2 separate regions of the Homo sapiens genome follow, and region 2 is linked to region 1. Evidence: promoter capture Hi-C in human tissues and cell types (Jung and others, 2019). All regions are on one chromosome and are shown on one strand. Each heading gives the region's core, a stretch centred on a gene start or on the middle of the fragment in contact. The rest is flanking DNA. Distances are from core to core; before and after follow the strand shown. Region 1 holds the start of NR6A1 (nuclear receptor subfamily 6 group A member 1). Region 2 overlaps NR6A1 (nuclear receptor subfamily 6 group A member 1).

Region 1 (2,825 bases), core at 193-2,692:
GTGACAGAATGGAGCTGGAATCCCCATCACTTCTGGTGGACTTCATCAGTGCTGGAAAGGGACAATATTGTTGCTATCTCATAGAGCAGGTATGAGGTTTAGACGGCAGAGCGTTAATGTAAGTCTCCCAGATTACGTATGAAATACAGTTTCACCAGGGTTGGTAAGGTCCAGTTGCCCCCAAGTGCAGAGAAGCGTTGCAACTTTCGTAGCAGGTGAGGGACGGGGTATGGTGCGAAATGTGGGCAAGGGTCAGGCCAAGCAGGGATGCGAATGCCAGGACGAGGACTTAAAATTAGGCAAAAAAAAAATAAAAGGGCTAAGGGATTGGTGGGGCGGGTGGGGCAGGAGAGGGCGAATGAGCGGCCACCGAGGAAGCTGCAGCATAATCCGGCAGAGCAGAAGTGGGCAAAGCACCAACGTTCTCGTTCTTTGTCTTCAAGTGGGCCAGGTAGGCCTTAGACCCTTGGCGGCAGCAGCGAAATCCTTTCCCGATGGGGTCGCCGAAGACGGACACCCCGGCGGGCCTAGTGACCGGTGGCCGCGCGCCACCTGGTGGCCGCAGCGGGTGGATTCGGCCGGGAGCCGCTGCAAAATTCGGGATTTTGCTTCCGGAAAGCTTCGGGAAACTGAGGTGGGAGGGGCAGGGGTTTGCGATCTTCCAACTTGATCCTGTCCTTATTCCAACCCCCTTTTACAGATAGGGAAACTGAGGAAAGGGGAAGGCAAACAAGGCTGGGCAAGGGATCCCTCTTAAACGGAAGGTTTCAAGACACCTGGGGTCAAGAGCCTAGGGCTTTCTTTAATAGCCCCAATGGCCCGGAGCTTAGTTTGCCCATCTGTTCTATGGGCAGGGGGAAAATGAAAGGGGAGGAGGGGAAACTTTAGTCTTTGCCGCCCACCCGGAGGTAAAAAGTCTTTAAAGACTACCCCGGAAAGAAGAGTTTTATATATTCCATTTGCATACGAACGCAGTCACCTCGAGTTAAACTCCGGTCCTTTAATCTCCGGTCCAATTTGTCCCGCAGCGGCAGGGAGAGGCCCACGTGAGTACCTTCAAGCCCCGCCTCCAGGGCCCCGCCCACAGGGCTGGGCTTCGTTGCACGTGCTCACCCGGCTGCCTCGCGATCCACCTCCTCGCAAAGACTCATTGTTGGGGTGGGGGGTTACGAGGACTCTTAGGGAACTTTGATCAGGTAGAAATCACAATCAAGACAAGGCCCGGAAGTATCCGCTTACTACATAGACATCAAACGCTTTGTCATGGTTCTTGATATTGACAGACTTTAGCTTTCCCTTCTCAGGACTTCTTATCCCTCCTTCCACCCCTTCAGTTGGTGCGGTCGGCGTGGCCGGCCTCGCTGAGCGGACTCCAACTTCCAGCGTGCCCCGCAGGGCCTTGCGCGGCAGCGGCGTGTGACGTCAGGGGAGGGAGCTGGCCAGTGCTGAGGGGGCGCGGCGCGGAGGGGCGCGGAGCGGCGCGGAGCCGGGCGGCTCGGGGCCCAGAGAGAGCCGCGGCCGGGAGCTCGCGGGCTCCTGACAACCTCCTCCCCTCGGCGGACGACGACCACGGCGACTAGGGCGCCGGTCATGGCGGAGCAACAAACCCGGCGCGGACCCTAGGCACCACCGCATGGAGCGGGACGAACCGCCGCCTAGCGGAGGGGGAGGCGGCGGGGGCTCGGCGGGGTTCCTGGAGCCTCCCGCCGCGCTCCCTCCGCCGCCGCGCAACGGTGGGTGAGGGGCCTGCGACGCCCGGGCCAGGCAGGAACCGGCTTCCTGAGCCTCCGCCAGGGATCCCCCTCCTCTCTGCCGACCCTCGCCCTGGGAAGCCGCAGCGGCCCCGCGGCCCCTTAGGGTGGCCCTTCACCCCGTTCCCCGTTGGCGCGGACCCTCCCTCTCCTCCCCGGTCTCGCTCAGGGTGGATCCTCCTCCTTCGTCCCTGTTCCCTTCTGCGCGGACCCTCCCCCTGCCCGGGTCCCTGGGCACCGAGCTTCATTTCCCCCTCCCCCCGTCCCCTCTGCACAGGCTTCCCCTCCCCCCGTCCCCTCAGCACCAATCCTCCCTCCTCCCCCCGGGTCCCCTCCCCCTGTCTTCCCAGCACCGAACCTTCCCCTCCCCCCGGGCTCCTCAGGTTGGAAGTCCCCACCGCGGTCCGTCAGTGGGGGCATCCCCTCACTCGGGTTCCCTTAACGCAGAGCCTCTCTTTTCCCCTACAGGGGTTCCTCCTCCCACCGAGGACGCTCCCTTCTTGCCCTGTTGACCCGACTCCACAGCACCCTTGTACCGCTCAGCTTTCTAGAGCGTTTTCCTCTTCTGCAGCCTCGAGCGTTCTTCCTTGAATACTACGAGCCCCCCACCTCTGCCGAACCCCCGTTCGCTAGACATCCCCCAGTCGTTTCCTTTTTCGGACCCCTTCGCGCCTCCTGCTTCCCCTGCGCCTCACCTTCCTCAACGCCCCGCGCGCTCTGGCCGGTCTCCGCCCCTGCTCAGCTCCCCTCTCCGCCAGGCAACGGCTTTCCCTGGCCGAGGGCTCCAGCCCGCCCCGGGGCCCCGGACACCTGCCTCCTCCCGGCTTCTGCCCGGCAGGTCCCGGTCCCCACCTCTTAGTCTCAGTTCTCCTCTTTCTTGTCCCGATCCGGGACCTTGGGAGCTGAGAATCCCTCACCTGGCCCGGCCCTTCCTACCGCTCGTCCCTCGCCCCCTCGCCCGGGCCGGGTCCTCAGGTTCCTCGGGGCTTCCTCGCCCTCCTCCCCTTCGCTCCCTCCCCCTGCGGGGTGTTTTATTTGTATCTGTTTGATATTTTCCTCCTCGGTGTTTGCCGC
Region 2 (2,825 bases), core at 234-2,733, 46 kb after region 1:
TCCACCTGTAACTGACCAGAGCAAAAAGTTTTTAACACTTGTTGGTGTGTTACGAATTTTACATTCAAAACCAGATCTCTTACATTCCAAGGTTAGTAACCCAGCCATCCTGAATCAAAGGTTTTTCTCAACTAGGCTTTAGTGTATGGATGACTGGCTCATGTATTTACTGTATATTGGGAAGAAGTGAAGAAGTGAGAAGAAGTGAAGAATTTCTTGGTCAAAGCTTAAGTTACAAAGAACATGAGTGGTCTCGAATTAGATGCCTCTTCAACTCAAACACTCCTTACTGAGAGGACTTTATAAAACAAGCAAAAAGTCTACCTCTCTCCACCCTCCCCAAATTGCAAAAGTGAAAATCTGAAATGTGGCCGATGTAGCTTTTCACTAAGAAGCAATCATGGAACGTGAGCTGAATCAATCCATCTTCATCTCCACTTCCTCCAATCTAAAGGTTTTGCTCCCCAATATAAAGGAATAGCTGAAGGATGCAGCTAACCGATGAACTTACCAGCAAAATACATTACATGAGAAATATGCTAATGTAGGCTAGAGGTGCAGGACAGTTAGGGGCAGGAGGGAGAAGGACAATTCACAGAACTAGTGGCTTTTTCAAAGGATTTTAGGGGACATTTTTGGTCATGGAGACTGGTGCTCACCTACCACTAAGGACATACACAGTTACAGTCACTACTTAACAACGATGTGAGGGTTTGACATGACCCCAACTAAAAAAACTTGAGTGTTTATGAATGTAATTACTGAGCTATACTTGGCCTGATTTCCTCAAGTATGATATGCCTTTGACATCACCCAATATTCAGGAAATTTTGCCCTGTGATTGGTACCATAAAAATGTAAGAACTAATCAAAAGTTCATTTCTGTTAAAAACCCTTCTTTTCCCTTAAGTAGCTACATCTGGCAAGATTCTCATTTACATTAAGCCTGTAGTCAACAAGTCTGTTACAAGGCATACACACTATACTTTGATCATTAAATAATGACACAACCAGCAAACTCCTTTGGTCTAACATTTTTTATTCCCTCAAATTTGATCCGAATTTGTCAGTATTTTAAAAAGTTTTTAAAATTTGGTATTTTTCTCTTAAGTTGACTAGAGACGAATTTTTGCCATGCTCTCCAGGCTGGTCTCAAACTCCTGGGCTCAAGTGATCCTCCTGCCTTGGTCTCCCAAAGTGCTGGGATTACCAGGCCGAGCCCCGCATGACTTTTGAGGATATTACAGATTTCCTTGTGTTGTATCTTTGGAATTTGGAGGCCCAAATATTGCCCCCCATTCCCCAGATTCCTGATAGGAAAGCCTGCTCACACTCCCTTATTTTGGAACAGGAAATACTTCGTTGCTAATTTCCAGTTGTGCATGGCAGTGGTTGTAGGCAGCAGGTTTGGGACAGCAGGTGTCATGTGGGAACTAGTTGAGGAAAGACTGACTTTGTCCAATTAAATGGCTTGGCTTTTTTTTTTTCTTTTTTTTTAAATACCTTTAGTGTGATAAAGCAGATGGGCAGCCATGCTCAGAATATGGGCAGCTGTTCACACTCTGGCTGCCTTCCTATGATTCCTGGACTTCCTGGAGTCCAATGTTATGGCACAGGTTCAGGCTAAGTTCATTTCTACAAGAAGTGTCCCTGTACCATGTCCATTAGCATAAGCTAGGGACAAGGGCAGTCAAAGGTCAAGAGAAGTTCAAAACAGCATAACCTTTCTGTGCTTCTGTTTCCAAATAACCCCTGTCTGCCCTGCTCCCCGAGTTTTTTCCTCGGCCGTCGTGTTTACCGTGTAGCTGTAAAACTCAAGAGAACAAGGACCGACTTGATACAAGGGAAGTTAGAGAATAGAAGTCATTGTTGCTTAAAACAGGAGAAATAATTGATTTATGTTTGGGGGCCAGTTAGGCTATAAAACAGGAACAGTAAAGGGACCTGTGACTTCAGGACTTGCTCTGATTTCTGTCCCATAGACAAGGGGCTTCCCAATAAAGGCTGTCAGCTTTCTAGGCTAAATTATTAATTCCTTTCATGCCTCTCAGGGATTGTAAACAGCACATAATAAAGGGAAACAGTTGATAGTGTTCGGTTACTGGCCAGATAGAGGGTCAAAGGGTAAATAGTTGGATTAGCAACAGCTGTTCTTCCTCGCCAAACTTTTTGTCTCTTATTATCTATTTCAGAAATACTGTTCCTGAATTTTTGGCTTACATATAATGAAGTCCATTTCTCCTCTTGTAACATAATCCTACAAGTAATTACACTGAGAGTAAACATTGACCAAAATTGAAAGTACTTACTTTAATTCAGTTTCCAAAGTTGAAGATTGAATTTTTTTTTTTTTTTGGTATGTGCTATGTTGTCTGATGTTCAAAGGATATAATCCCAAGGAAAGTACCTGCTTGAAGTTAGACATATTAGAAGCTTTTTAGCTGTGTGGTTTTTTTTTTTCTCTTTTTTTACCAGCTGGTTGAGGATCTTGGTGTAGCTTGATTAAAAGAAAAAAACATTGTTTTTGTTTAAACTGGTAGTAGAATAATGTATGGTTCACTATGGAAAACACTAAAAGAAAATAGAAGCATCTCTAATCCCACCACCTAGAAATAACCATTGCTTCACGTTTGAGAGTATGTCCTTCCAGGTTGTGTCCGAGCTCATCTTTTACATAATTAGGAATCTATACTATATATGCAATTTTTGTATCCTGTTTGTTTTCCCCCACTCTGTATTACATTGGGAACATTGTCCCAAGTCATGAAACGATTTTCACAAATGTTTTTAACGGAAGGATATTTCATTAAATAAGTAAATAGCTT

Evidence for each region. The method cuts DNA at HindIII sites, captures the fragments that hold promoters and counts their contacts. A contact is called where the count stands out against the background at its distance.
Region 2: a contact is called between a fragment that was not itself captured here and the fragment with the promoter of NR6A1 in region 1, in 1 of the 25 tissues and cell types used here (mesenchymal stem cells).

What each region holds. Positions count from the first base shown.
Region 1 is chr9:124,769,928-124,772,752 of GRCh38, reverse strand. NR6A1 (nuclear receptor subfamily 6 group A member 1) reads left to right here and starts at 1,442. Exons shown (of 10, transcript NM_033334.4): 1 at 1,442-1,733. The coding sequence starts at 1,634. It overlaps LOC124900274 (a long non-coding RNA gene), which reads left to right and starts at 2,273. Exons shown (of 2, transcript XR_007061773.1): 1 at 2,273-2,825. LOC107987126 (a long non-coding RNA gene) reads right to left here and starts at 1,396. Exons shown (of 2, transcript XR_001746926.3): 1 at 980-1,396; 2 at 1-51. RefSeq lists enhancers at 1,043-1,302, 1,093-1,660 and silencers at 1,373-1,952, 2,493-2,742. The HindIII fragment of the contact is 6,332 bases long and covers 1-2,825 here.
Region 2 is chr9:124,724,065-124,726,889 of GRCh38, reverse strand. All of the region lies in intron 2 of NR6A1 (nuclear receptor subfamily 6 group A member 1), which reads left to right. LOC124902269 (a long non-coding RNA gene) reads left to right here. Exons shown (of 2, transcript XR_007061772.1): 1 at 1-2,825. Among named protein-coding and RNA genes, the nearest start is that of MIR181B2, 32 kb to the right of the region's middle. The HindIII fragment of the contact is 4,902 bases long and covers 1-2,825 here.